Regions from separate parts of the Homo sapiens genome. Here regions 2, 3, 4, 5, 6 and 7 are each linked to region 1. Evidence: promoter capture Hi-C in 16 types of primary human blood cells and fetal thymus (Javierre and others, 2016). All regions are on one chromosome and are shown on one strand. Each heading gives the region's core, a stretch centred on a gene start or on the middle of the fragment in contact. The rest is flanking DNA. Distances are from core to core; before and after follow the strand shown. Region 1 holds the start of INTS9 (integrator complex subunit 9). Region 2 holds the start of GTF2E2 (general transcription factor IIE subunit 2). Region 3 overlaps DCTN6 (dynactin subunit 6). Region 4 overlaps LEPROTL1 (leptin receptor overlapping transcript like 1). Region 5 has its middle 5.3 kb from the start of LEPROTL1. Region 6 overlaps SARAF (store-operated calcium entry associated regulatory factor). Region 7 has its middle 33 kb from the start of SARAF.

What was found. Contacts are between HindIII fragments. The CHiCAGO score rates a contact against its expected background, and 5 or more counts as called.
Region 2: a contact is called between a fragment that was not itself captured here and the fragment with the promoter of INTS9 in region 1, in 1 of 17 cell types (fetal thymus). The highest score is 5.4, in fetal thymus.
Region 3: a fragment that was not itself captured here is called in contact with the fragment with the promoter of INTS9 in region 1 in 1 of 17 cell types (fetal thymus); the score reaches 5.7 in fetal thymus.
Region 4: a contact is called between a fragment that was not itself captured here and the fragment with the promoter of INTS9 in region 1, in 2 of 17 cell types (activated CD4 T cells and fetal thymus). The highest score is 5.4, in activated CD4 T cells.
Region 5: a contact is called between a fragment that was not itself captured here and the fragment with the promoter of INTS9 in region 1, in 1 of 17 cell types (fetal thymus). The highest score is 9.3, in fetal thymus.
Region 6: a fragment that was not itself captured here is called in contact with the fragment with the promoter of INTS9 in region 1 in 1 of 17 cell types (fetal thymus); the score reaches 7.9 in fetal thymus.
Region 7: a fragment that was not itself captured here is called in contact with the fragment with the promoter of INTS9 in region 1 in 7 of 17 cell types (naive CD8 T cells, fetal thymus, naive CD4 T cells and 4 more); the score reaches 8.4 in naive CD8 T cells.

What each region holds. Positions count from the first base shown.
Region 1 is chr8:28,887,682-28,891,844 of GRCh38, forward strand. INTS9 (integrator complex subunit 9) reads right to left here and starts at 2,288. Exons shown (of 17, transcript NM_018250.4): 1 at 2,193-2,288. The coding sequence starts at 2,201. HMBOX1 (homeobox containing 1) reads left to right here and starts at 2,714. Exons shown (of 10, transcript NM_001135726.3): 1 at 2,714-2,997. RefSeq lists enhancers at 2,071-2,627, 2,267-2,466, 2,628-3,184 and a silencer at 2,837-2,956. The HindIII fragment of the contact is 2,854 bases long and covers 1,346-4,163 here.
Region 2 is chr8:30,654,210-30,658,372 of GRCh38, forward strand. GTF2E2 (general transcription factor IIE subunit 2) reads right to left here and starts at 4,027. Exons shown (of 8, transcript NM_002095.6): 1 at 3,764-4,027. RefSeq lists enhancers at 2,556-3,227, 3,899-4,163 and silencers at 3,612-3,701, 3,712-4,121. The HindIII fragment of the contact is 1,487 bases long and covers 1,416-2,902 here.
Region 3 is chr8:30,161,847-30,166,009 of GRCh38, forward strand. DCTN6 (dynactin subunit 6) reads left to right here. Exons shown (of 7, transcript NM_006571.4): 2 at 2,265-2,329. Among named protein-coding and RNA genes, the nearest start is that of DCTN6-DT, 7.3 kb to the left of the region's middle. The HindIII fragment of the contact is 5,050 bases long and covers 1-4,163 here.
Region 4 is chr8:30,107,843-30,112,005 of GRCh38, forward strand. LEPROTL1 (leptin receptor overlapping transcript like 1) reads left to right here. Exons shown (of 4, transcript NM_015344.3): 4 at 1-682. Among named protein-coding and RNA genes, the nearest start is that of LEPROTL1, 15 kb to the left of the region's middle. The HindIII fragment of the contact is 320 bases long and covers 1,570-1,889 here.
Region 5 is chr8:30,087,978-30,092,140 of GRCh38, forward strand. No RefSeq gene overlaps it. Among named protein-coding and RNA genes, the nearest start is that of LEPROTL1, 5.3 kb to the right of the region's middle. The HindIII fragment of the contact is 2,401 bases long and covers 859-3,259 here.
Region 6 is chr8:30,071,920-30,076,082 of GRCh38, forward strand. It overlaps SARAF (store-operated calcium entry associated regulatory factor), which reads right to left. Exons shown (of 6, transcript NM_016127.6): 2 at 1,958-2,136. Among named protein-coding and RNA genes, the nearest start is that of SARAF, 9.1 kb to the right of the region's middle. The HindIII fragment of the contact is 3,292 bases long and covers 442-3,733 here.
Region 7 is chr8:30,047,956-30,052,118 of GRCh38, forward strand. No RefSeq gene overlaps it. Among named protein-coding and RNA genes, the nearest start is that of SARAF, 33 kb to the right of the region's middle. The HindIII fragment of the contact is 1,666 bases long and covers 1,019-2,684 here.

The DNA.
Region 1 (4,163 bases), core at 1,038-3,537:
GAGCAACAATGCTTTTGGTATGTTGATGGGAATTCTCAATTACATTTATCTATCAACTACCAAATAAATTTTAGTATGTAATACATAGTTGCAAAGTAAAGAGGGAGTATGAGTATCAATAGAATACTTCCTTTTCCTCTGAGACATCTTTGGTTCTTAATGGAAAAAATAATTTTCCACTTTTTTACAATCCCCGGTTTCATATTTCTAAATAAATTAAGCAGGAGGATTTTATGAGCAAACTAAAATATATGTAAAGTAAACCCTGGCTTTTTGATACCCTCACTAATGAGTTGTTATGGGAAAAACTATTTCACACTTCCCTGCCTTCTTAAACTGAACACATTAAATATAATTTGCTCTTTATTGAGAACACAGGGTCCATGCTTTAGCCAATAAGGTACCAAGCTCTTATGCTCCTATAAGCTGACCTCTTTCATGGAAGGCCCTGGCTTACTTATCCTTATCAGTTCAAGAGTCACGTTTCCAGGAAGCTGTCCCCTGACCTCCCCAATCCTCTGTTCTCTGAATTCCCAAAACCCTGAACACGCCTCTATTTCACCATGAACACAGTGAATTATAATTTCGGACCAGGCATGGTGGCTCATGCCTGTAATTCCAGCACTTTGGAAGGTTGAGGTGGGCAGATACCTTGAACCCAGGAGTTTGAGACCAGCCTGGGCAACATGGTTAAACCCCATTTCTACAAAAAAAATAAGCAGGGTGCAGTGGTGCGCGCCTGTATTCCCAGCTATATGGGGAGACTGACGCGGCGAGAGGATCGCTTGAGTCCGAAAGGTGGAGGTAGCAGCGAGCTGAGAACGCGCCACTGCACTTCAGTCTGGGCCCCACAAAGCCAGACCCTGTCTCTAAATAAATAAATAATAACTTTGGTTTACTTTTCTATCTTCTTCTTAGGTTGCATGCTTCTGTAGGGCAACGGCTATGACTTTTAATTCTGCATTATTAAATGTGTAACACACTGACCCAGGGGTAAGTTGCTATTCTCAAGGTTTAGTGACCCGCATCCTTCCCCTTATATAAACAGATTTATACGGGGACAATTTCGGAATTGAATCCACTTTTAATACTTTCTCTGACTTCGCAGAAAACAGCTGGCTTTGCAGAATATATGCCTGTAGCACAATGATTATCAAGATGAGGGTAGGTGTGTTGTGTGGTTTGGCAAAGCATGTTCAGATAATTATATAAATGGTAAAAAATAAACTTTTTTTTTTTTTGAGACAGAGTCTCGCGCTGTTGCAAGGCTGGAGTGCAGTGGCGCGATCTTGGCTTACTGCAACCTCTGCCTCCCGGGTTCAAGCGATTCTCCTGCCTCAAGTAAAGCTTGACAATAACTTGGCTGCACAAATATGGGTTTTAAAAGGTTGAGAAACAGTGTTTCACACCTGCCTTTCTACACTATGTTATTAACTAATTGAATCGAGTTGGAATAAACTAGTTAGACTTGTGTGCACAATGAGTCAAATGGCTCAAATCAAAGGTCTGAGGAGCCTCCATGAACCAGGTGCTTGAGCTGTGTGATGTTAAGACTTCAGGTATACCGAGCACGCTTCATTCAGCCTTGGCTCATGAAGTCCCTACAGTCTTAGAATGGAATACCATATAACACTTCTCTGCCCATCTAAATCCCATGCAGGGTTTAAGACTCAACTTCTCCACACTCTGACCTCGTCCTGAATTCCAAGGGCAGTGAGGAGTCTATATAACAGGATATTTAATAAGTGATTACGTTCTGCTGGATGTTTTTTACTGTCTGCTTAAATCTAGCCAGTCTCAACAACAGTAGGGAGACAGGATACTCAAGCGCCAATCGAATGGAAACGGATTGTTAACAGCCTATTATAACCCTCACGTGGGAACCAGGACGTCCAAACCTGGTTAACAGAGCCCACAGAGTTCATGGGCGAAGGACTGTGACAGTCAACCTCTTGTCTGAACAAAAAGACCCACTAACGAGTGAAAAAAGACCTCCTGGGAGGGATGGGGTGGGGGAGAGGGAATTCAAACCTTCTCAACAACAAAAAGCAGCTTTCCTTAGCCCACTCCACTTTCCAGCTCAATAATTGCTACCCCTCCCGTGCGACGATTCCCTGCCCAACGTAGGAAAAAAAGAGGTCCAAAAGGTTATAGCATCACCTTTGCCCTCTGACCTAGGAGCGAAGACTCACCAGTTTCATAATGGACTTTTGGTGGTTCAATAGCAGTCACTGAACTCCTCAAACCCAGGAAGCGTCTTCCGGTGCAATCTCCGCCACCTGCCAGCCGAGAGCATCGCGGGACTTGCAGTCTTTCATCCTCACGTCCCTTCCAGGGGAATAATGGGAAATGTAGTCTCCCCTCCAGGCATCATGGGAACTGTGGTCGCCTTTCCTTTTCCTCCCTTTCCTCTCCGAACGCCTCCTTCCGTCAGCTCAAATTCATCCCAGCCGCCAATGCATCCTCCCTCTCCACCCCAGCATGATATCATGTCTTCCTTACGGGCCTGGGGCCCATGGTGTTCTGGGATGTGTAGTCCCGACGGCTCCGACTCCCCTTTCCCTCCTCCCAAAGGGAAGGCGGATGGGCACGGGGCTTGCCGGAAGTTGTAGTTCCCTTGGCCCTCTAGGCGCCGGGCTCCGCAATTTTTCTCAGGGGAGGCAGGAACTACAACTCCCAGGGACGCCCGGCGGCAGCAGGTGGGAGAGGGGCTGTTGATATCAATATGGCGGTTGTCAGCCAGACAAAGACAGTCAGTCTGATGTGATTGAGACAAGGGAGGTTTTTCAGGGGGAGACTGGGAGATAGGGGCCTCCCCTCCCCCTTCTCCTCTTCCTGCGCCGGCCTCAACCCCTCCCCAGTCCCCTCCCGACGGGCGCCCCACGCGGAAGACACCCCTCCCCCTCCCGCCTTCCCTCCTCCCTATCTCAGCCCTTCGTACTGGGACGTTGGGGAGGGGGCTGTGCCGGGCGGAGAGAACTCAGCGAGGATTCTGAGGTGAGTCGAGCGGTTTTGAAGCCGGACTACCTCAAGTCTCTTTCCTCACTTCTTTCTCTTCACTTAAAACAATTTTTTTGGAGGGGTTTTGGGGAGGAAGTGAGCGGACGCTGGGGATGGGTCTCGTAAGCGGCCGGATTGAGAGGAGGGAGGAAGCAGGGGGCTTCCGAGTGGGTGACCCAGACGCGGGCTGTGGGGTGGGGCAGTTCGTGGGGTCCGGTCCTGGAAAGGCGTCGACTGCCCCCCAACTCTTCTGGTTTCCTCTACGATGAGCGGAAGGTTTGAATCCTGGAGGTGGGGTCTCCGGTGTGGAGTTCTGGAAACTGTGAGGTGATTTGCAGGTGTGTTGGTTTGTTTGGGGTGTGTAAGTGTGTTTAAACTGTGTGACGTGTACTTGTGTGCTCTGCTCGTCTTGGAGCGGTGTCTGTAGATGGGAAGTTAGACAGCGCGAGTCCTCGCTCGCTCTGGGCCTGGGCTGAGGGGCGGGCGTGAGGTCCTGGTGCTGGGCGTTTGGGCTGGCGACGTGGTGCGAGGCGGCCGGGCTCAACAACTCGCTTGTGTCCCGTCGCCCGCTCACACTCTGCCACTCGCCTCCGCCCCCTCCCCTGGACGAATCTCCACCCCAAACTCCAGCCACGAGAACTGTAGAGATGGTGTGATGTGGAGATGGATTTTTTGCATCCTCAAGTCGGTAGATAGGTGGGAAAGGAAAAGTGTTTCTTAATATTTTATTCCGGAACCGTGTTTTGGTTACACTATTGGGGCTACTTTGAAAGGCGTCCTCCACCCACCTTCACCCCGAAACAGTAGGTAGAGGTATCTTGTCTTCGTGTGAATTAGATGAATAATTGCTGAAGATTCGGGGGGCCTGGGGTGGGGGTCGGGAGTGCTGGATTGTGTACGCGTCTGTGTGTGTCTACTAAGGAGACGGAATGTCTGTTATGTATCTGGAGATAGGGCGACTTATTTTCGTAGCAGGAGGAACTGTTGGAAATTATTTGCGGGAGAGGGGGTGCGCCGAAAGGCGCTGCTTGTATTTTTCTTCTACTCCACCCTGTTCTGTCTTGCATTTGCCTGAAAGCTGGTGGAATGGAACAGTGAAGAAGCATTGGGTGAGTAAAGGGAAGAATGCAGTTGGCATTAAAGATAACACTATGTAAAGTTGA
Region 2 (4,163 bases), core at 909-3,408, 1.8 Mb after region 1:
CTAGTTAAAATTGAGATGGACTTTCAAGTGTAAAAACCCACAAGATTTCAAAGATTTAGTATAAAGAAAAAAACTATTTAATTACTAACGAGATATTTTACATTAATTACATGTTGAAGTGATACTATTTTGAATATACTGGGTTAAATAAAATGTTAAAATTAATTTCACCAATTTTTCTTTTAAAATATGGCTATTAAAAAAAAATTAAGAGACAGTGTCTCACTGTGTTGCCCAGGCTGGAGTACAGTGGTGTGATCATAGCTCAATGTAGCCTTGAACTCCTGGGCTCAAGCAATCCTCCCACCTCAGCCTCCTGACTAGCTAGTACTACAGGTACACGCCACCACACACAGTTAATTTTTTTAAAAACTTTTTAGAGACAAGGTCTTGCTATGTTGCCCAGGCTGGTCTTGAACTCCTGGCCTCAAGCAATCCTCCTACCTCAGTCTCCCAAAGCACTAGGATTACAAACATGAGCCACTGCACCCAGCCTAGAATATTTTTAATTACACGTGTGGCTCACACTTCCCACTCCCATTATATTTCTATTGGACAACACTGCTGTAGAAACATGAGGACTACAGGGCAGAAATTAGAAGAAGGTGGATTTAGGCTCACTGCAAAAAAAGAGAACCATCAGAACTGCTTATACATAAAATGGCATATTTTTACAACTGGTGAACTCTCAATTATTAAGTGATGAAGAGGCTGAATTATTATACTATTTGTTAGAAATGTCTACAGAGAGCCGGGCACAGTGGCTCATGTCTGTAATCCCAGCACTTTGGGAGGCTGAGAGACCAGCCTGGGCAACATAGTGAAACCCTATCTCTACGAAATTAGCCAGTCATAGTGACACATACGTGTAGTCCGGGCTACTCAGAACGCTGAGACACGAGAACTGTTTGAGTCCAGCAGAGGTTGCAGTAAGCTGAGATCCCGCCACTGCCCTCCAGCCTGGGGGATACAGCAAAACTCTGTCTCAAAAAAAAAAAAAAAGTCTACAGAAAATTTCCAATTTGGAGGGAGGTGGTTTGAGGCAACTTCTATGTTGTGGTTGTTGTTTGTCTAGTTCTAAAATTACAACTCAAAGCAATTTCACTACAACCAGGGAAGCTACAGGTCAACCAACAAGAATTCTAAACACACCTCTCTTCTGAACTCTGCTAGAACCCTACAGAGGGTCTATGAAGACCTCAAGCTGACTATATAAATGAATTTGACACTGTTAAGACTAGTGTCAGCTGGGAGGAAAAAGACTCATACTTTGAAAGCTTTTAAGCACAGATAGCTCAATAAATATTTGTTAAATGAACAACACATGGAACATCATCTTTAAATTGCTCTGGTCCCATTATTACTGGTTTCACAAGCCTTTATTAAATATCTTGTTTGTGAGGCACTGTGCTCTAAGCTTTGAAAGGTTACGGAAGATAAATCCTTGTCTACATGCTGCTTAGATTTGAGAAAATGGAAGCATTGAGCTAAAAATTTTAAATATAAGCATTGATAAGAAATAATCAGACTGAATTTCAATTAAGGCGTGAACAATCACTGGACGGTGAATCAAAAACCTGCCTTCTCTCAGTTTCAATTTTTTTTTCTTTTTTTTTGAGACAGAGTCTCGCTCTGCCGCCCAGGCTGGCAGAGTGCAGTGGTGCAATCTCGGCTCAATGCAACCTCCGCCTCCTGGGCTCAAGCGATTCTCCTGGCTCAGCCTCCCGAGTAGCTGGGACTACAGGCGCGCAGCACCACGCCCCGCCAATGTCTGTATTTTTAGTAGAGACGGGGTTCATTCACCATGTTGGCCAAGCTGATCTTGAACTCCTGACCTCAAGTGATCCGCCCACCTCAGCCTCCCAAAGTGCTTAGATTACAGGCGTGAGTCACCGCACCCGGCCTCAGTTTCAATTCCTAAAGCCACCTGGCTAGGCAACCCACAAGGCCTCTACATTCAATTTCATAAGTGAAATGAGGACGCTATGAAAGCTGTCCACATCCAGCCCAATTGTAAGAATGAGAAAATGTGTATGTTATTTTTTAAACAGTAAAGTCATAAAAACGTGTTATTTCAGTATTACTATTTTGAGTTGGATCTGAAAGAAGGGAATGATTTACCGGGCTGAGGAAAGTAGGAGACAGCCTTGGGAGGAGGGAAAGCGTGGGGCCAAGAAGAAGAAAGGAGAATTGTCAAGTGAGAAGGTGGGAGCAAAAAGTAAATTTCTAGAACAGGAAACATTTGTGTCTTATTTCACGTTGCAAAGGCAGGACCTCAATCTGGACTTTAAAAAAATTACTCTAAAAGATTTAAATAGGCCGGGCGCAGCGGCTCACGCCTGTAATCCCAGCACTTTGGGAGGCCGAGGAGGGCGGATCACGAGGTCAGGAGTTCTAGACGAGTCTGGCCAACATGGTGAAACTCCGTCTCCATTAAAAATTTAAAAAATGTGCAGGGTGTCGTTGCGGGTGCCTGTAATCCCAACTACTTGGGAGGCTGAGGCAGGAGAATCGCTTGAACCAGGGACGTGGAGCTTGCAGTAAGCCAAGATCGCGCCACTGCACTCCAGCCCGGGCGACAGTGCGAGACTCCGTCTCAGAAAAAAAAAAAAAAAAAAGTAAATAAAGCCGTACAGTTTACAACAAACTAAATGCTTACAGTATTTGACCCTCGCAACTCTAGGAGCAAACAGGTATTAGTGTTATTCCTATTTTAATACGTGAAATCTGAAGTGAAGCTGTCTGGTTAAGGTCGCACAGATGGAAGAGCCAGGGCCAGGAACCAAACCTCCTGACTCCTAACTCAAGTGCTCCTTACACCAGACCTGGAACGCTGGTAAAGGCCTTTAAAACAAAGGCCACCTGTGAGGTTCGGGAACGTTCAAAGGCATCTAGAGCAGAAAGCTTCGCAATGTCTGTCTTTCACCATCACGTGCTCCGCCTAACTTTTCCTCCTTTTTCAAAGACTACCCAATATGTGTACTAAGTTTTAGATCTCTGGACCCCCCTATGGAGTAAACAGGCTACATCACCATGTCCATTTTACAATTAAACAAAACCACAACTCAAGGAGTTGGCTGGTTCCTCCGTGGGCAGACACGGAAAACCCAAAAATTAAACTGAAATCTGCCTCCAAGCCCACGATTCTTGCCACCATTCGACCTCTTTCAACCTTACTACTTCCCCTCTCTTTCACTTTTACCCAGCCTCGTTAGTGTCCCTGGCACCTCAGGACCCGGCTATGAAAAGCAGGCTGCTTCGCCCTTAAATGACGGAAGTGGGGAGGTGGGCGAAAAGGGGGCCGCAGCGTTGTTTAGACTGCAGAAATCAACTACTATCGTTAAAGTTTAGGGATCATCACAAACCAAATCTCCAAAAGGTAGCCTAGAAAGCAGTCCGCGTATGAGCATCATTTTAAATCACAGTCTTGAGCTGGCTGGACCCCGCGGCTGCTCAAACTCCACACACGGTTCGCTTGGCTACCGCGCCCGTGAACTTGGAGGCTTGGAAGAGGCACAGTCAGGCGGCAGACCGCGAATTTTCCCTCTTTCCAACCCAAAAGTTTGCTCAATGAACCTCTGGCCTAAAGACAATGCTCCGGGGAACGGTTCGCGTGCTGGGTGTTTCGCTTCGAGAACGGCGGTCCCAGCTTCCCGTGAGGTGGAGGTCACGCTCAGCCTCCCGGGAGGCGGCGGCGCGCCTGCGTCCCAGGGAACAGCAAGCCGGGGCTCTGCGCCCCACACCCGGCGGCCGCAGCCCCTACCTGAGTGAGAAGGGCAGCCTCGCACGACTCGCCGCCCCCTTCCTGCGCCTCCGCCTCGGCCGGCCGCCCACGCCGGCACTGCACCCTCTTCCTGCTTCTCGTCAGCGCCCCCGCCTGCCCGCACGCACGCCCAGCGCTGACCCGCCAGGTCGGGGTCTCACCACTGGCGGTGGCGGCGGCGGCGGCGGCAGCGGCGGTAGCTGAGGCGGCGACTGGACCCGGGACTCCGCCCGCCACTTCCCGATCGGGTGCTAGGAGCTCAGTCCCGGCAGCCACCGCGGCGCCAGGGCAGCCAAGCGAGCGCATGCGTCATTGCGTGCCCCGCCTCTGGTGCCGCGGGAGCGGAACTATCCCGCTCTGGCGTCCTGGGGCCTCCATGACAACGAGGGAAGGGCTGGGG
Region 3 (4,163 bases), core at 977-3,476, 1.3 Mb after region 1:
ACACCACTCTCCTGCCTCAGCCTCCCAAGTAGCTGGGACTACAGGCGCCCACCACCACGCCCGGCTAATTTTTTGTATTTTTAGTAGAGACGGGGTTTCACCGTGCTAGCCAGGATGGTCTCGATCTCCTGACCTCGCAATCCGCCAGCCTTGGCCTCCCAAAGTGCTGGGATTACAGGTGTGAGCCACCACGCCCAGCCTTAATATTTTTACATAAGCATTCTTGCACAAACATTTACACCTTTCTTTTCTTTTCTTTTCGAGATGGAGTCTCGCTCAGTCACCCAGGCTGGAGTGCAGTGGCGCTACCTCGGCTCACTGCAAGCTCCGCCTCCTGGGTTCATGCCATTCTCCTGCCTCAGCCTCCCCAGTAGCTGGGACTACAGGCCACCACCATGCCCGGCTAATTTTTGTATTTTTAGTAGAGACGGGGTTTTGCCATGTTGGCCAGGCTGGTTGGTCTCAAACTCCTGACCTCAAGTGATCCACCCACCTTGGCCTCCCAAAGTCCTGGGATTACAGGTGTGAGCCACCATGCCCAGCCCAAAACTATTGTATTTCTGTATACTGTGACAATTGGAAATCAAAATTTTGAAAAATCCAAACAAAATTACAAAGACAAAATATCTAAAATGTTAGTGTTATTTCATAGTAGCTGAGAGCAGATTTAACACCATGAATGTCATTGCCATTTAGAAAAATTCTTTTATTAATGAAAAGAAGTTTCCTAATAACTATCACTGTAATGGAGAAGTCATTTGATGTACTTCCTCATGTCAGCTCATGGTTCAGCTAGGGTCAGTGTTTACATACAGCTTTGTCAAACAAAAGATAACAGCAGAATATAAAAAAGCATCAATAAGTTATATGGAAATTATTAGAGTCTTTTGAAGAATTTGTACTACAATTTATATTACTTGGTAAAAAGTTTCTCATATATGTGTATGTATATATATATATGAGAGTAAACAGAAACATTTGTAAATTTTAAATTTCTAAGTTAGTATTACCTTGCTGGTTGTTAAATAGTTTGAATGTATATTTTTTCTTCCTACCTTTACAAAAATAATGGCATATTACATACTGTCCATTTTCTCACTTCACTCTTTTTTACTTTTAACAATATAGCTTGGAGATCATTCCATATTTTTTTTTTTAAGAGATGAGGTCGCCGGGCACGGTGGCTTATGCCTGTAATCTCAGCACTTTGGGAGGCTGAGGTGGGTGGATCACCTGAGGTCGGGAGTTCGAGACCAGCCTCACCAACCTGAAAAAACCCCGTCTCTACTAAAAATACAAAATTAGCCAGGTGTGGTGGCACATGCCTGTAATCCCAGCTACTAGGGAGGCTGAGGCAGGAGAGTTGCTTGAACCTGGGAGGCAGAGGTTGCAGTGAGCCGAGATGGTGCCATTGCACTCCAGCCTGGGCAACAAGAGTGAAACTCTGTCTCAAAAAAAAAAGATGAGGTCTCACTATGTTGCCCAGGCTGGTCTTGAATTCCTGGGCTTAAGCAGTTCTCCTTCCTTGGCCTCCCAGAGTGCTGGGATTACAGGTGTGAGCCACTGTGCTCAGCCATTCCAAAATCTTGACAAGAGATTATTCATTCTTTTTGATGGCCATGTAATAGTCCATAATGTGCCATAATTTATTAACTAATCTTCCACTGATGAATATCTAGGTTGTTTTCAGCTTTTTGTTGTTTAGAAACGTGCTGCTATTAAAAGAAAAGATTCAAAACTCTTCTCAAGTGTTTTAGCACATGTGATTTGGGATGATGGACAATATACCAATTGAAAAATTTATAATGTATTAAAACCTTACCCTCTTACCATTGACTTTCCATTTTTCCATCTTTTTTTTTTTTTTTTTCCTGAGACAGAGTTTCACTCTTGTTGCCCATGCTTGAGTGCAATGGCGCGATCTCGGCTCACTGCAAACTCTGTCTCCCGAGTTCAAGTGATTCTCCTGCCTCAGCCTCCCAAGTAGCTGGGATTACAGGTGCTCGCCACCACGCCTGGCTAGTTTTGTATTTTTAGTAGAGATGGGGTTTCTTCATGTTGGTAAGGCTGGTGTCGAACTCCTGACCTCAGGTGATCCCCCCACCTCGGCCTCCCAAAGTGCTAGGATTACAGGCGTGAGCCACTGCGCCTGGCCTTTTTTTCCATCATTTTTTAAACCTTGTTTTCATTACAATGTCACGGTAGCTCCTCCAACAGTATGTTTAATCTTACCCCTGGTAAATGTTACCTTTTTCTTGCTACAGTGTGAAGATTGCTCCTGGAGCAGTTGTATGTGTAGAAAGTGAAATCAGAGGAGATGTAACTATCGGTAAGAAATAGTTTATTTACTGTTTTTCAAGAATTGATGTGATTTAATCTATTTTAGTGCTTTACAATTAGATACCGTCTTCCATGTTTATTTCACTGATGTCCTAGTTTTATTGACAAAATAATGCATTTTCTCCTATGTGTTTAAATTTCTGAAAGAATGTAGTGTGATGGAGGCTGTGTTTAAACTCCTATCTGAAATACTAATGAGGCTGTATAACAAAGTCATTCATGTATTTAAGAGAGATCTGTTGTGTACCTGCGATGTGCCAGGCACTGTGCTAGTGCTAGAGACACGTCAGTAAGCACAGCAGACAAAGGTGCTGCCTTTGTGGAGCTTCGTGGAGAGCGTGGGCCATGGAGTCAACAGACCTGGGCTACTCTGCTCCTTGCTCCTTTCTTGCTGGGTTACTTTGAACATATTACTTAACCTCTCTAACCTTGATGTTTTTCCCATCTATATAATTGTGTGTATCAGGATCAGGTTCGGCTGCATGTAGGGGTGGCTTACACCTGCAGAGGTTTATTCTCTCATATAAAAAGTTTCAAGGTGAGTAATGGAGGGCTGATCGGTTGATTGTCCAGCATGGAGCTCCGGCCCTGCAGGCCAGGAAGTGATGGCTAGAGCACCAAGCATCATCTTGGATGAGAAAGGGGAGGCGTGGAAGCAAAAGGGCATGTGTTCCAGCTGTGAGTCAGCTCCCTTTAAACAGCCTTCCTGAAAGTTCCACACGACCCTCCTCTGTGTGTCTCATGGCTAAGACAATCTCATGGACACATCAAGCTGCAAGGGAGTTTGGGAGTTGTAGTCTTAGCTGGTTGCATTGCAGCCGCTAATGAGATCAGGGTTCTATTACAAGGAAAAAGAGGAGAAGAGATATTGGATGGCAATGAGCAATTTTCATAACATGCAAAATAGTAGTATCTACCTCCTAGGTTTCTTGAAAGAAAACATGAAAATTGTGAGTAGTAAGCTGTCAATAAATATTTGCTGTTAACGCTGTCAGATCTTCTCAGTGTAGCCTTGCCAGAGTTCAAGTCCAACATTTTACTTACGTGAACTTGACTAAGTTCCTCAAACATTTTACTCTGTTCTTTTAACTGGGGTTTACCTGGATATGGTGCCCTTGTAGTTTTATTGGTGTGAGCTCATTCTTACCAGCAGCCGCATGTCACCTGTATGCTACCAGACTAAAGTGTTCAGTGAACTATTACACTTTCAGAGAGGAAATACACTTTATTTCCTTAAATGAACAGTTTCTTTAATGAAAAAAAAAAAAACCCTGTAACGTCATTTTTTTTTTCCAAAAAAAAATCTAAGCCTCCAAACAATTTAGGCATCTTGTCTTATAAAACCAGTGGAGATTGTGCCAGTATTATGGAACATTGTTAAGAATTTGCCAGGTTAGGACGGGCACGGTGGCTCACGCCTGTAATCCCAGCACTTTGTGAGGCTGAGGCGGGCGGATCACATGAGGTCAGGAGTTCAAGACCAGCCTCAACATGGAGAAACCCCGTCACTACTAAAAATACAAAATTAGCTGGGCATGGTGGTGCATGCCTGTAATCCCAGCTACTCGGGAGGCTGAGGCAGGACAATTGCTTGAACCTGGGAGGCAGAGGTTGCGGTGAGCCGAGATCGCGCCGTTGCACTCCAGCCTGGGCAACAAGAGCGAAACTCCTTCTCAGAAAAAAAAAAAAAGAAAAAAGAAAAAAGAATTTGCCAGGTTGGTTGATTTAATTATTTCTTTTCAGTGCCGTGGTAACTCTTTGTCTTTTGTATTACCTAAACCACTTGCGAAGTGTTTATGAAGCAAAATGAGGAAAGTTATGTT
Region 4 (4,163 bases), core at 480-2,979, 1.2 Mb after region 1:
CCACAGACTTTTTCTAACAGCTGCGTATTATTTCTATATACTAACTGCATTGGCAGCATTGTGTCTTTGACCTTGTATACTAGCTTGACATAGTGCTGTCTCTGATTTCTAGGCTAGTTACTTGAGATATGAATTTTCCATAGAATATGCACTGATACAATATTACCATTCTTCTATGGAAAGAAAACTTTTGATGATGAAACAATAAAGATTTTAAATATCTATTTTAGTTTGTGGGTGTTTTTGAAATGAAAATATATGGCACACTTTCATTCTGAAGTGCATTAACATTCTAATAAGGTGATGTAAAGCAAGATGACATTGGTGTAATGTTAGAGTTGCAGAAGTTTCCATTCCAAAATAAAATGGAAACCATAGTTACAGATATTACAATGCAGCCCTGTAATTTTGAGCTGTAGTAAAAGGATTGGTAATCTGGGAAGTAGAATTTTTACAAAATCTTTTACAAAAATAGTCATAAAAGGTTTTGTTGACATTTAAGACTACTACTGATCTAAAGGCAAGGTCCTACTTCTTAAATTTTCAGAACATTTTTATGACTTCTTATTATGTATTTATTACCACTCATTATTATAGCATGTTACTTTTTGCAAACATTTTAAACAAAAAATATTTCTGTTTGGTACACTGTGAAGAGAGAAAAGTACTGTTCTGTATTTTCAAATATTAGTCGTGTCCCAAATTGTCCTAATTATAATCTTATCATATACTTTAAAAAGTTTAGGCTGTGGACACTAAATGTCTGCTCTAATATGATTTTGGGGACATTGTCAATACAGATTTTTTTTTTTTTTTTGAGACTTGCTTTGTGCCCAGGCTGGAGTGCAGTGGTACGATCTTGGCTCACTGCAACTGCTAGGTTCAAGCGATTCTCATACCTCAGCCTCCTACGTAGCTGGGATTACAGGCATAGGTCACCACACCTGGCTAATTTTTGTATTTCTTGTAGAAACATGGTTTTGCCATGCTGGCCACACTGGTCTCAAACTCCTGGCCTCAAGTTATCGCCCTGCCGCTCAGCCTTCTGAGTAGCTGGGATTATAGGCCTGCACCACCACGCCTGGCTAATTTTCGTATTTTTTGTAGAGATGGGGTTTTGCCATGTTGGCCACGCTGGTCTCAAACTCCTGGCCTCAAGCCATCACCACCACAACCCCCCTCAAACCACCCCCCCGCCCCGAAAAAAAGTGCTGGGATTACAGGCGTGAGCCACCACACTTTGGCCAAAATAATCCAGATTTCTAAAGTCTAGGATATTTATATTGAATGTGACTAGATTTTTAAGTTTCAGATAACTTTTAATCAATGCACCAAAGTTAACAAGCAACACAACGTTATTGTTAAGTGGTATGTGTGTTTTAGATCCCAGGATGCTTTATGATGTATACGATTGGTGGGAAATTGAAATTCGTATTTCTTCTCTATAAGCTTGTATTGCCCTTTCTTTCAGTGAAGATTAGGAGCTCTGATTTTATTACAGGTCTGTTCATTTTATGGCATTCTCAAGGAAGAAAACATGTCCTGTAGGTAAATATTTTAGATCAATGAAGCTTAGCTTACTAAGAACTAATGTTTGTTTTACTTTAATCATTTGATGAAAGTATTAAATGGATTGTACACATGTGCTTTCTTAGAATATATTAAAACACTTTAATTTTTCCTTGGTAATTTAGGACTATCATCATAAACTATTTCCCCCCCATTGTAAGTGGCTGCCGACCTGTATTTTTCTGGAATTGTGTTTTTGATCCTTTTCATACAACTGAGTATTTGTTTCTAGCACCCCTTAACTTATTTTGTTTCCAAGTTGCTGACTTACAGTATATTAGGAAGAGTGGAAAGTGGTCAAGAAAAAAATAAGGCAACCAAGCTTATTAAATCAATTATGTAACATTTCTGTACACAGTACATCAGTGGACTTAATTAGGGTGCCTCCTACCTCTTACACAAATGAAATGCTTTGTGACAGGTATTCTTCCTCTTGAAAGGCTTTTTTAAGAAAAAAATAATTTTTAACTGTATACTAGATAATCTGAGATTGCAAAAGGAGCACCAGATAAGGGAGGTGTTACCATGCTGTGCAGCAGAAGAAGGCTTATAATTAAGTTTACTACACTTTAATGTTGGGGTTATTCTGAGCTCAAGATACTCATAGACCTTTGTCTGATTTCCAGGGTCTTATATCTCACTTCACCCTTTGTGTTTAGTTACTGAAAGTTTAGGGATGAAGATAGATTTACAGTTTATTTTTACAAGAAACTTTATACTGTATGCTTTGCTTCCAGTCTCTTGAAGATTATTTGAATTCATCTGTGGGTTTATGCCCATACACATGGTTAGTCACAGTAATTCAGATATTAACTGTTAAGCTTGTAAATTCTAGCAGAGGGTGGTGGGAACAGAGCAAATCCAAACCTGTTTCTATGAGTGAGAGATTAAGACCATAAAACACTTATCTTTCAACTGTAATTCTGCAGAGTTTTGTATTTAGAGGCAGTACTCCGTGTGTGTGTGTGCGTGCGCGCGTGTGTGTAGTGGGGGCAGAATCAGGAATTTTTTTTTACTTCAAAAGCCAGTAGAGGCTGGGCATGGTGGCTCACACCTGTAATCCCAGCATTTTGGGAGGCTGGGTTGGGGGGCGGTGCGGATCACTTGAGGTCAAAAGTTCGAGACCATCCTGGCCAACATAGTGAAACCCCATCTCTTCTAAAAATACAAAAATTAAGTCGGGTGTGGTGGTGGCGCCTGTAGTCCCAGCTACTTGGGAGGCTGAGGCAGTAGAATCGCTTGAACCCAGGAGGCAGAGGTTGCAGTGAGCCAAGATCACGCCACTGCACTCCAGTCTGGGTGGCAGAGTGAGACTCTGTCCCAAAATAAAAAAAAAGCAAATAGAATGTCTAATACTATGAAAGAGAAGCGTTGTGGCAGTTTACAACCATAGAAACCAGCCAATAGAATAAAATACTAAAGAATAAACCTGAGTATTTCCATATCTGTTTGTAAAAGCATTAGTATTTATTAATTATCTTGATATATAGTGTGTCTGGCATTTAATATTGGAAGTATCTTTTTCTCTTGGTAGATCAGTTTATTGTATAATATCATGTAAATACAACTGTGACATAAAAGTAAATGAACTTGTGTAGATTTGGGAACCTCCCCAAAATAGGACAGATGTTTTCCTGAAAGCTAGGTTTACTTATGTCATCTATTTGAAGATTGTTTCTGAAAGGGTTTACAATTGAAACAACTTCCTAGGATTAAACCAAGTGTAGGTGGATTTATTTTTGTCAGGGAGGGTCTAAATCATCAACTTCCAAAACATAAGCAAGAATTGGCTCTAAACATTAACTGAGTGTAGCAGTGAAGACAAAGGTGTTAGTCCCTAAGAATTAAAAGAAAAAGAAGATGGTTTTGAGCTATACTTCATACTACAAATGATGTTTGTCATTTACTAATTTAAATGGCCTAGTAATTATTTAAATTAAATAATTTATTATCAACTAAATCCAAACAGTGCTTAAAACAGTGATTTCAAAAATATATACATTTAAAAACCCAGATGCTAAGAAATGTCCAGTGTATTAGGTAGAAACAACTTGGTGTTCACATCTCTGTATTTCACTTCGGCTATGTCATGAGGTAGTTATGCTGAAATTCCGCATTTGGTTTCAGCTTTTCCTCTAGAAAACTTCCTTGTTCCCAGTGGCAGTTACATGCCGCATTCCAGGTACTACTGGAAACAGGAAAATCTTGGAGCACAGTCCCTCTCTGAAGTGGTAATCTAATGAGATAAGAGAGACAGAAATATATCGAAGCCAATTCATCTCCAAGCCAAGAGAGAAGTGTGGAGTTCACGGAAGGGAAAGATTTGGGAGACAGAAAGAGGTCGGGTGGGGGGTGGTTTTCTGTTGCTCTGGTGGGTCTTGTGCCAGCCAGCAGGGTCACAGGATGTGAGAATTCCTTTGGAGCAGCAGTCTGGGGTTCTTCAGCATCCTGAGGTTTCAGAGGCAGTTGGGGACAGCTTTTTGATTCTGACACGATGATCTCTGGATCCCAGATACCATGGAGATATAAAAAGTGGTGAGACTCAGGCTATATTTTAAAGGAATAAAAGCAGGTTTGCTGATGAGTTGTGTGGA
Region 5 (4,163 bases), core at 809-3,308, 1.2 Mb after region 1:
GACAACGTGCTAGCAGCCCTCGCTCACTCTCGGCGCCTCCTCAGCCAGGACGTCCGCTCTGGCCGCGCTGGAGGAGCCCTTCAGCCTGCCGCTGCGCTGTGGGGGTCCCTCTCTGGGGCTGGCCGAGGCCGGAGCCGGCTCCCTCCTCTCCCGGAGAAGTGTGGAGGGAGAGGCGCGGGCGGAACCCGGGGCTGCGCCCGGCGCTCACCGCTCGCGGGCCGGCGCAGGTTCCGGGTGGGCGCGGGCTCCACGGGCCCAGCACTCAGCGCAGCTGGCCGGCGCCTGCTGGGCTTGATCAGAGGCTGGGTCCCGTGCGTGCACCGCCATTCCCTCTTCGCAGGGTCGTTGGCCAGAATGGCGGGTCTCCCTCTCTTTCTCGCTTCCCCTCTTTTCCTCTTGGTTGTCTGGGACAAGCTCCTTCTGGGCTACTGGAGCACCCGGGGTAAGTGCCGCAAAATCCCGCGAAGAGCGCCAGTGAGAGGTGAAGCCGGCTAGGCTTCTGGGACCGGTGGGGACTTGGAGAGCTTTCTGTCTAGTTAAAGGGCTGTAAATGCACCAATCAGCACTCTGTGTCTAGCTAAAGGTTTGTAAACACAACAATCAGCCTCTGTGTCTAGCTAATCGGGTGGGGACTTGGAGAACTTTTGTGTCTAGCTAAAGGATTGTAAACGCACCAATCAGCACTCTGTGTAGCTAAAGGTTTGTAAATGCACCAATCAGCACTCTGTCAAAACGGACCAATCAGCTCTCTGTAAAATGGACCAATCAGCAGGATGTGGGTGGGGCCAGATAAGGGAATAAAGAAAGGCCACCAGAGCAGCAGCGGCAATCCGCTGGGGTCCCCTTCCTGGGTGTGGAAGCTTTCTTATTTTGCTTTTTGCAATAAATGCTGCTGCTGCTCACTGTTTGGATTTGTGCTGCCTTTATGAGCTGTAACACTCATAGCGAAGGTCTGCGGCTTCATTCCTGAAGCCAGCGAGACCACGAACCCACTGGGAAGAACAAACAATTCCAGACGGGAGGAACGAATAGCTTTGGACGCGCCACCTTTAAGAGCTGTAACACTCACTGCGAAGGTCTGTGGCTTCACTCCTGAAGTCAGCGAGACCACGAACCCACCAGAAGGAAGAAACTCCGGACATGTCCGAACATCAGAAGGAACAAATTCCGGACCCACCGTCTTTAAGAACTGTAACACTCACCGTGAGGGTCCACAGCTTCATTCTTGAAGTCAGTGAAACCAAGAACCCACCAATTCCGGACACAACTGGTCCCTAGACCAGTAAACCAAAAATGGTCCTTAGAGTGATGAGTGTTTTTGTGCTGGAAACACTGAATCTCATGGGAAAGATAAGGAGCACAATCTCTCAGGATTCTGTGACCATGGAAGAAAAGAATGTAGATTCCTGTAACCTGATGAGTAATCCCAGTTGCCCATGAATGTTGTCAAGGACATCTGTAATGCCAACACATTTGTACTGAAAAGAGCAAATCAGGCTGGGGGTAGTGGCTTACACCTGTGATCCCAGCCCTTTGGGAGGCCAAAGTGGGAGGATCTCTTGAGTCCCAGAGTTCAAAACTAGCCTGGACAACATGGCAAAACCCCGCCTCTACAAAAAGTAAAAAATTAGCGGGCCATGGTGGTGCATATCTGTGGTCCCAGCTACTCGGGAGGCTGAGGCAGGAGGATAGCTTGAGCCCTGGAGGTGGAGGCTGCCATGACAGGAAGCTACCATGACTGTGATTGCTCCACTGCACTGCAGCCTGGGCAACAGGATAAAACCCTGCCTCAAAAAAAAAAAAAAAGGGAAATTTATCTTTGTAGCTATCTTATCCTACATAAGATAGCTACAAAGATAAAAATAATAATAAAAATAAATGAAAAAAATAAAGCTACATACCTACCTCACAATTTGCCCACAAGGATATTCCTTGTGGACAAAGGACAGAGAGAACTCAAAGTCATCCTTTGCTCACTGTGAGACAAATGCTTATCTGATTGCTTCCTTTGCCCTGTTTTTTCACTAACCCAGACTAAAGCATAAGTGACTATACCTGTAAATTGTGTATTCAGTGAAAGGCTAATCAGAAACTCAGAAGAGGCCAGACATGGTGGCTCATGCCTATAATCCTAGCACTTTGGGAGGCCGAGGCAAGTGGATCACTTGAGCTTAGGAGTTCAAGACCAGCTTGGCCAACATGGTTAAACCCGTCTCTAACTAAAAATACGAAAATTAGCCAGGTGTGGTGGCACATGCCTGTAATCCCAGCTACTTGGGAAGCTGAAGCAGGAGAATCACTTGAATCCAGAAGACAGATGGTGCCACAGCACTCCAGCCTCAAAAAAAAGAACAAAAAAATTAGCCACGTGTGGTGGTGGGCACCTGTAATCTCAGCTATTCGGGAGGCTGAGGCAGGAGAATTGCTCGAGCCCAGAAGTTGAAGGTTGCAGTGAGCCGAGATCGCACCACTGTACTCCAGCCTGCAGCTTGGGTGACAGAGTGAGACTTGGTCTCAAAAAAAAGAAAGGAAGAAAAAGAAACTCAAAATAAGGCAACCATTTGTCTCTTATCTACCTATGACCTGGACACCCCCTCCCCACTTTGAGTTGTCCCGCCTTTGCAGACCGAACCAATGTACACCTTATATACAGTTATTGATGTCTCATGTCTCCCTAAAATGTATAACACCAAGCTGTGCCCCAACCACTTTGGACACAGGTCATCAAGACCTGCTGAGGCGTGTCAAGGGTGCGTCTTCAACCCTGGCAAAATAAACTTTCTAAATTGACTGAGACCTGTCTCACATATTGTGGGTTCACAGAACAAAACAAGAAAAGGTGTTGTGGTAGGTGACATGTGGGATGGAATTATTCACTTCTCCAGGAATTCCACCTATCCATTCAAGATGGCTGGGGAGAAGGACGTATATGCCTGCTTCAGTAGTTTAGAGAAAGGAGCTGGTGGCTCACAGATTCCGTGTAAACAGCGTGTATTTCCATGGCATATGTTCAAGTGTGCCTTGTGGTTTTGTTACCACATCCTTAAATGGAAACTTTTTTCATGATACAGGAAAGAGATGGTAGATCTTTCTGCACTAACTTGAACAGAAAAAAATTCTACTCTCCTACAAAACACCCATAGACTCATTTGGTGCATTAAGACTCAAGAAGTGACCTGTTTGTTGTTGTTGTTGTTGTTGTTTAAATTGTAATTCAACTCTAGAAATAGTAGAGAGAAGCGAAGTGGGTAATGCCTCAAGCTTCCCATTTGCTCTCATTTTAAAGCATATTGGAAATATCTCTTCTAAACATTCACTCCACAGTCTTACATGCCACTTTATGTTAGTCTGATGACTGAAAAAAAGTTAAAAATTCAAATCGTACGTAGCTCACCCCCACCTACTTCCTTTTAAAACCTTCAAAAGATTTTTATTGCTCAGAGAGAAAACCCAAAACTGCTTGTGTACGTCCCTACTATATAAGCATGCTGCCCCACCCCAACCTTGACCAACCCCATTGGCCACCTCTCTTTTCTCCAAGGGACCAAGCAAGTTCCTTGCTCCATTTGCTGCCAAAGCTCCTAACTCCCCACCACACATACATACATGCGCGCACGCAAACACACAAACACACAAAAACACAACACACAAAACACACACAAACACACATGCACAAACACACGCACACACACAAACATGCATACACACGCAAACGTGCACAAACACGCAAACACATGCAGGCACACACAAACACGCCCACAACACAGACACGCACGCACACAAACACACATGCACGCACAAACGCATACACAGACACGCACACAAACGCACGCACAGACAAACGCACACACACAACACCCAAACACGCACAAGGACGCACACACACGCACACACAAATACCCATGCACACGCAAACACGTACACAAACACATACACACAAACACGCACAAACACATGCATGCACACACACATGCAGGCACACACAAACACAAACACGCACACACACAAACACACGCAAACACACACACACAAACAACACACCCCGCCACCTGCGATGGCTTTTCCGTTCTCTATTAACACATTTATTCATCACTGTGTTGTCTCTCCTTGGGGGAAATTTTCCTTGGCAGATCGCAATCAAAAGTTTTCAGAGAACTATTTAC
Region 6 (4,163 bases), core at 838-3,337, 1.2 Mb after region 1:
TGCAAGTTTTTGTGTGGACATGTGTTTTCAATTCTCTTGGGTGTATATACCTTGGAGTGGAATGACTGAGGCATACATGGTAACTCTACATTTAAACTTTTGAGGAACTGCCAATTTTCCAAAGCAGCTGGACCATTTCACATTCCCAACAGCAGTGTATGAGGGTTCCAATTTCTCGACATCCTCACCAGCCTTGTTATCTTTTTTATTATAGCCTTCCTACTGAGTGTGAAGTGGTATCTTACTGTGGCTTTGATTTGCATTTCTCTGATGGCTAATAATAAGGAACACTTTTCATGTGCTTATTTATTACTTATATATCTTCCTTGTAGAAATGTCTATTCAGATGCTCTGCCATTTTTACCTTGGTTGTTTTCTTACTGAGTTGTAAGAGTTATTTTATATTCTAAATACAAGTCCCTCACCAATTATGATTTGCTAAGCTTCCTCCCATTCTGTAGGTTGTCTTTTCACTTTCTTGATGATGTCCTTTGATAGTCAAAAGTTTTTCATTTGGATAAGATGCAGTTTTTCTTTTGTTGCTGTTACTACACTGTTTTTAAAATAATTTTATTTGGAGGAAGATTCATAGGTTTGTTGACTTAGGTAAATAAAACAAGCTAAACTTGTATTGGTATTTCATGTTAACTACCACTTCCTTAATCATGCGTACTTACAAGTAGCTTCTAAGTACTGTATTTAAATTTCAACTCTTGGAATAGAAGGAGTTTCTGTCCTGCTACTAAATGGCCTCTCTCCTGCTACTAAACATAAGCCAATGTATGATATGCTCAACACTCCTTTGCTCATGCTATTCCCTTCTCTAGCCTTTCCTCTCTAAAAATGTTATCATTCCTTCCTAACACAGCACAAATGTCTCATCCTTTAAGTCCCAATGGCTCCAACCAGACGTGACTTTATAATGTTGTGTTGGGACCTACATGTAATCTGAGTGCCTGTCTTACCTCTTCTACTAGTAAGACAGTTTCTTCATTCTACCTTATTCATTTTTGTATATTGCAATTAATACATGCTTAATGAATGACATCACCATTACTGCCTTTTTTTCCCATCAAGACTCTAAAAGTCATAAGTAAAGTGGAGTGAGACTTCTGCTATAACCCAGAGAATTCTATGATTCAACTTAGCAGTACTGGGGGAAAATATTGTGAAGTAAGTATCACCCAGTACACATCAACTTCCTCTCTGAATTGCAAAGACCACGCATAAAGGTTGTATCAAACAAGAATATCATTCTGATGGAGAGGGGAAATCGTCAACATAAGTTTCTTGCCTTGTGACCAGTCGTCTTAAATCAATTTTGAAAGCAGTCAGAATACAAAGTAGAAATATGTAACTAGTGATTTAAACTGAATTCATTTAATAAAATCTATCTCTAAAGCATATTCAGTTTTGGAACTTCAAGGAGATGCTCTGCTCGTATACAAAACACCAGCGTCCCAAAGGCAATCAATGAAACCTGCCGAAATGCTTCCTTTCAAAAGTAACCACCCTCAGTTCTAAGACAATTTTAAAATCAAGTGCTAGAAGCACAATAGAGATATATGAACCCCTACTATTTACGATCTATAATTCCTAATTATCTTAACTTTGTCTTAAGGGTAGGTTGGTATTCTTTGAGGAACGACAGGAAAATGACAACCATAAGATATCCCCTATCCCTCACCCTCAAGTATATAAAAAGTTGTGAAAATTTACAAATATCTTAGAAGGAGGTCACGATACAAAAACTAAAATGAGTATTTTCAGGCTTTAAAATCAGTTCATTTCTTTTGGAGGCCATTTCTTCCACAGGAAGAGTGATTGATTTACTTACATATTTTAGGCTGATCTGAGATTTCCGTAGGTGCACCCTCAAAAGACTGAATAATGTCCCAATAAACAATTTACTGAATAAAAACCCCATTTAGACTGCCATTACTGTAGTGGATATTACCTGTACATCATACCCATCCCAGCCTTTGTTCTGACACTGTATGACTTTTGGGGTATAAGAATCACAACCAGCTGTGCCTCCAACACATTTCAACTGTGGGATGGGATCCAGCCTGCGGGAGGTGGTATAGCGGTCATAGTGGAGGGTAAGAGCTTTTACATCCCGCAGCAACATTCTGTCTGAAACAGCAAGAAAACAGAGGAACACAAAGTAAGTATCGTGTCAGAGAAAGAAAGGTTCATCCTAACGAAACTCTCGTCATAGGAAATGCCTTTCTTGCCTTCTGAGGATGGCTAAGAGAGGATGAATCTATTTCTCAAAACTATCCCAACAACATTCAGGCCTTCTGAACAAAATTCAGGTCACACTTTTAAGATCTCCCTGCATTTCAGGCCAGATGCTTCTACAGCACAAGTTGTACATCATTTTTGCTAAATCAAAAGAACAAAAAGTTCATTAACCTGAAACATTGTACTACTGTGTAATAATAATAGTGGTTAATTAAAATGGCAAGAATATAAGCATGTTCCTGAAGCACATTTAATGCTTTAAATGTCCATCAACAGGTGAAGAAATTAACACATTCTGACCTATTACAGTGGAATATTACATAGCAGTTAAAATGAGTGAACTAGAATTCATGTATCAAACTAGATAGATGGCAAAAACATTTTAAACAAAATACAAGTTGCAGAATGTTTTGTATGACAGCTTTACATAAACCTTTAAAAAAGGCAAAACAGTACTACATACTGTTAATGTCTATATATGTATATAATAACAACATGAAAACATGTATGGGAAGGATTTAACACCAAATTCAAATAAGTATCTAGTCTAGGGAGAGAGAAAGAAAAGAGATTTTAGCTCTATTCCTAATGTTTTATTACTGGGAGTGGGGGATTTGTAGCAAATATGGCAAAATATAAAGATTCAATAAAACTGGGTGATGACTATGTGTAGGTTCATTGTACACTTCTGTATGTTTAAATACTTTAGGTATTTCATAATTTTAAAAATCAAAACTATTTAAACTATTTCACAAACTAAAAAATTTAAAACATACTGACAAGAGACTTTGAAAGGAGGAGTCAAAACAATAAAATTATGTCTGGCATTCATGTGCAAAAATGAAATTTTTAGGTTGGGTGTGGTGGCTCACACCTGTAATCCCAGCACTTTGGGAGGCCGAGGCACGTGGATCACCTGAGCTCAGGAGTTCGAGACCAGCCTAGCCAACACGGCGAAACCCCATCTCTACTAAATATACAAAATTAGCCGGGAGTGGTGGCACATGCCTGTAATCCCAGCTACTTGGGAGGGTGAGGCAGGAGAATCGCTTGAACCTGGGAGGAGGAGGTTGCAGTGAGCCAAGATCACACCATTGCACTCCAGCCTAGGCAACAAGAATGAAACTCCATCTCAAAAAAAAAAAAAAAATGAATTTCTATGCATTATTGGAAAATAAGGACAAAGTCTTCCTATTTATCATGTTGTGGATTATTGATGGAAGATGCTGTGGATTGGCTCAGTCAACATCCACTTCACCCTCAAACAGGTATGCCTTCCTGCAAAGCAAAAGGAATCCCAAAACCTCTTGCAGCTATAGTTGCCAAAAGCAATTTCAGTTCTGCCAACCAGAGGGACTCGAGCAAAATCTGGAAAGCAGACCCTAGACTTATACAGTGCTCTGTCCTTCAGCTAGTAAACACAGGCATGGAGACCATGAGTTTTCAAACTGATAGTATCCTCTAATCAGCTTCCTGGCTGTCATGAAGCTTGACATGAACAATCTATTTTTCAATGTGGCAGATGTAATAGGCATCGCTTTCTACCATTTTGTGAGTACCCAATTCCCTATATTCAACCTGTCAGATTAGCAGAATTTGCAGCCTCCCAAAATTCTACTAAAACTATAATAAATACATTGTTTTGATGATGTGAATGACTGTGGTCAGGTAAAACGAAAGAGGAGATGACAGCAGAATTTTGGAAGGAGAAAGTAAATGGACTAGTGGTAGATGACTAGACCTAAGTGAAAGACAAATGCCAGAACAGCAAAGGGGGAAACTGAGAATCAACCTGATGTACATAACAGAATCCCTAAAAAAAAACAAAAAAAAAAAAACAAAAAACGGGAAATGGCAGCTCTGGAATGGGAGATGCCTGGAATACACACTACAGGGTGAAAGCTACTTGAGAGGAA
Region 7 (4,163 bases), core at 602-3,101, 1.2 Mb after region 1:
GCCTATGTAATCCCAGAACTTTGGGAGGCCGAGGTGGGTGGATCATGAGGTAAAGAGTTCAAGACCAGCCTGGCCAACATGGTGAAACCCCAAAAATACAAAAATTAGCCAAGCATGGTGGCAGGTGCCTGTAATCCCAGCTACTCAGGAGGCTGAGGCAGGAGAATTGCTTGAACCTGGGAGGCCAAGGTTGCAGTGAGCCAAGATTGCACCCCTGCACTCCAGTCTGGATGACAGAGCAAGACTCCATCTCAAAACAAAAAAAAAAGAAAAAGAGGTTTCCATAACTTCTTTGAAATCAAAATAACCATCAAACCTCTCCATTCTTTGACTATTCTTCTTGTTTTTTGTTTTTTTTTTTTTTTGAAACACAGCCTCACTCTGTCGTCCAGGTTGGAGTGCAGTGTTGTGATCTCAGCTCACTGCAACCTTCACCTCCCAGATTCAAGTGATTCTCCTTGTCTCAACCTCCTGAGTAGCTGGCATTACAGGTGTGTGCCAGCACGCCCAGCTAACTTTTGTATTTTTAGTAGAGATGGGTTTCATTATGTTGGCCAGGCTGATCTTGAACTCCTGACCTTAAATGATCTGCCTGCCTTGGCTTCCCAAAGTGCTGAGATTACAAGCGTGAGCCACTGCGCCCAGCCTATTCTTCTTTCTTATGACCAGGCTTACAGGGTAAGGCAAGAAAGGGAAATAATGAGATAAAACAATTTCTTTATCACCTTTCACTTGATGACTTCTGGAAGCTGGTGTTGGAACAGCAATGTCCCAGAATCACAGACACTTAATGATGGAAGTCATCTGAGAAGCATCCTTGCCTGTTGCTCCGCCACACGGGCATTTTCCCTACAGAAAATGACAACAGATCCTTTCATTTCCATGAAGTCCAATAACTAACTAATAATTGTGAGTTATTTAAAATATCAAGTTAGGCAGTATTGAACTAATAATAAGAATGTATACGCAATGAGGAATCTGACTCCACTTTTTGATGCTTGACTGCTGACAGCTTTTAAGCTTCCATCTGCCTCTGCAGGGACCGAAACAGCATATATTTAAAATAATTGGCCAGGCACAGTGGTTCATGCCTCTAATCCCAGCACTTTAGGAGGCCGAGGCAAGAGGATCTCTTGAGGCCAGGAGTTTGAGACCAGCCTGGGCAACATAGTGGGACCCATCTCTACCAAAAATGAAAAAAATATTAGCTGGGTGTGGTAGCACACACCTGTAGTCCCAACTACTCTGGAGGCTGAGGTGGAAGGATCGCTTGAGCCCAAAAGTTCAGGGCTACAGCAAGCTATGAACCCACCACTGCACTCCAGCCTGGGTGACAGAACAAGACCAATTTAATTAATTGATTATTAATGTAATTAATTACTTATTAATTAATTAGCTAATTGATTTAATTTAATTAATTACTTATTAATTAGGAGGTTGAGGTGGGCGAATCACTTGAGGTCAGGAGCTCGAGACCAGCCTGGCCAACATGGTGAAACTCTGTCTCTACTAAAAATACAAAATTTAGCCGGACATCGTGGCCATGGATGTGGGGGACGACACTGCCATTCCAACACCAGCTTCCAGAAATCATCAAGTGAAAGGTAATAATAAGTAATAAGTAATTAATTAAATAAGAAAAGAAAATAATTGACTTACCATTATGTTTACCATCATGCTTATGCATCCAACAATAAAGACAGTACAGTAAACAATATTCCCAATCTGCTTGTTGTCATGATGCTTTAATAGGTCCCGGATTCAAAAGACTTCATTCTCCCAGTAAGACATCCTACTTGCAAAGACTTTCCTAAATATCATGGTTTGGGTTTTTGTTTTTGTTTTTGTTTTTGTTTTTTTTATTGAAATAGAGTCTCACTCTGTTGCCCAAGCTGGAGTGCAGTGGCGTGATCTTGGCTCATTGCAACATCTGCCTTCCAGGTTCAAGCAATTCTCCTGCCTCAGCCTCCTGAGTAGCTGGGATTACAGGCGCCCACCATCACGTCCGGCTAATTTTTGTATTTTTAGTAGAGACAGGGTTTCACCATGTTGGCCAGGCTGGTCTCGAACTCCTGACCTTAAATGATCCGCCCACCTCAACCTCCCAAAGTGCTGGGATTACGGTTGTGAGCCACCATGCCCAGCCTAAATATCATGGTTTTGAATAAGCACAGTGTCAATTTCTCTAATTTGTGTCATCATTCCACATATAGGGTGGGCTGTTGTATAAGGTGAAGAAAATTGATGTATGATCCATTGGTTACTCATTCATTCAATATGTGTTGAATACCTAGTATGAGACAGGCACTGTTGCGAACAATATGGACATAGTATAGAACAAGATAGACAAAAATCCCTGTCCTTGTGGAATTTATATTCTAGAAAGAGGGGGTAGGAAAAGTAATAATAAAGTAAATTATATAGTAAGTCAGAAGATAAGGGTTATAGGAGAAAATAGAACAGAATAAGGGAAATCCAAAGTCCTAGGGCAGAAATGGGGAAGTGAAATTATCATTAGAGTGGTTTGGTTTCCTTACTGCTGTTCACCAAATACATATGGTTTTTGATCTCCAGGCTTATACTAGGATTGTACTTCCCTATCATATTAAAGTTAAGTACAGCCATAGGACTTGTTTTGGCCAATGGAATGTGAGCAGAAATGATGTGTGTGATTTCTGGACAGAAGCTTTAAGTATAGTGTGTGATTCTCCACATGCCTCTCCCACTGCTGCATGCCATAGGAAGCTTCACTTGGCCAGAATTCCTGAATAACATCATGAGCCAAAGCCCCTGCCAACCTGTGTTAGACACTTGGTGTGAGCTACATATTAAGCTAATGAGATTTTTGGTCTTGTTTGTTACTGCAGCATAACCCGACCTATCCTAACTGATGCAAGTTGTCAGGGTAGACCCCACTAAGACAGCAAATGATAGTGGCTTGAACCTGAGTGACAATAGCAGAAGAGATGAGAAGTCATCAGAATCTGGAAATATTTTGCTGTATGGAAAAGAGTTAAGTCCTATATGATTGAAAATGTGAGACCAGTTACAGCAGACTACATTGATTCTAATAGTATGTCAGAGACATTTTGTGTAAAAAGGGGAAATATACTTGTGTAAAAAGGGGAAGGGTTCTAGGGGCAATCTTTTATGGTCTGGTGACAATCTGGAAGGAAATAAATAATCTATCTAGCAGGTTTACAACAGCATAAGCAACCTACTAAATATTAGGAGATTTTACTGTCCGCAATGAGATTTCTGACTTGTATAGTGGAGCATTATTGCCCTCTAGTGATAAAAGAGAAAATGTACTTAGAGAAAAGGAAAGTGACAACCAATGATTCTGGGAAACACTCAATTCGAAATTTGGGGTATTCTTTGGGCCATGACTGGTTGCTTTCTAACAACTTTTGACTGGGAGACACCATGAGCAATTGTATATCTGAGAAGATAAAATCTGGCATTGCTTTTCAAAGTTATCCATAATTTTCAAAAAAGTGAGAATCCTGAATCCGTGTTGGTTAAGGTGCCAGGATTATTGTAAGTATAAGAATTAGTAGTGATATCTACTACACAAATATTTTATTGTCTTCCATAAAAGATAGGGACAAGTAAGGGGATGAAGATTAATGTGTGTAACTGATAATTCCTGAACTTGGTGTTCTTTGTTTTGCTTTGTTTTTTTAACCAGTTGCACAAATGAGGAACGGTGAGAGACTTCCTGTTAGTAATTCAGTGAAATAGTAGTTAGTGAAATAGAGTGGCATTTTTTTTGTCACTTTCATAAGCTCAATATGAAGTAGTAGAGAGATGTAGCTTCCCAAAAGGCTGCAATCATGAAATGTTTATCCAAAAGAAAGTAATATATCCATTGAACTTCATATAATTATGCTGGAACAACCAGTATAATTTATTTAATCAAGATACAAATATTGTTGCATCTCTTATTTTACTTAACTAAACCAAGCAGAATCCCAATACTTTGGATAAGTTGGAGGTATAATTTCTTTCAAGGGACTTCTCTTCTTCTGCCCACTTATTCAAGAATCCCAGGATGTTGTCCAGAATGGATGAACATATTTCTGAAATGCCTTCTGGAGAGCAATCCAGAGGATCCAATCCATCACCAGCAGACCTAACTTTCAGCTACCATTGTTGTTGCC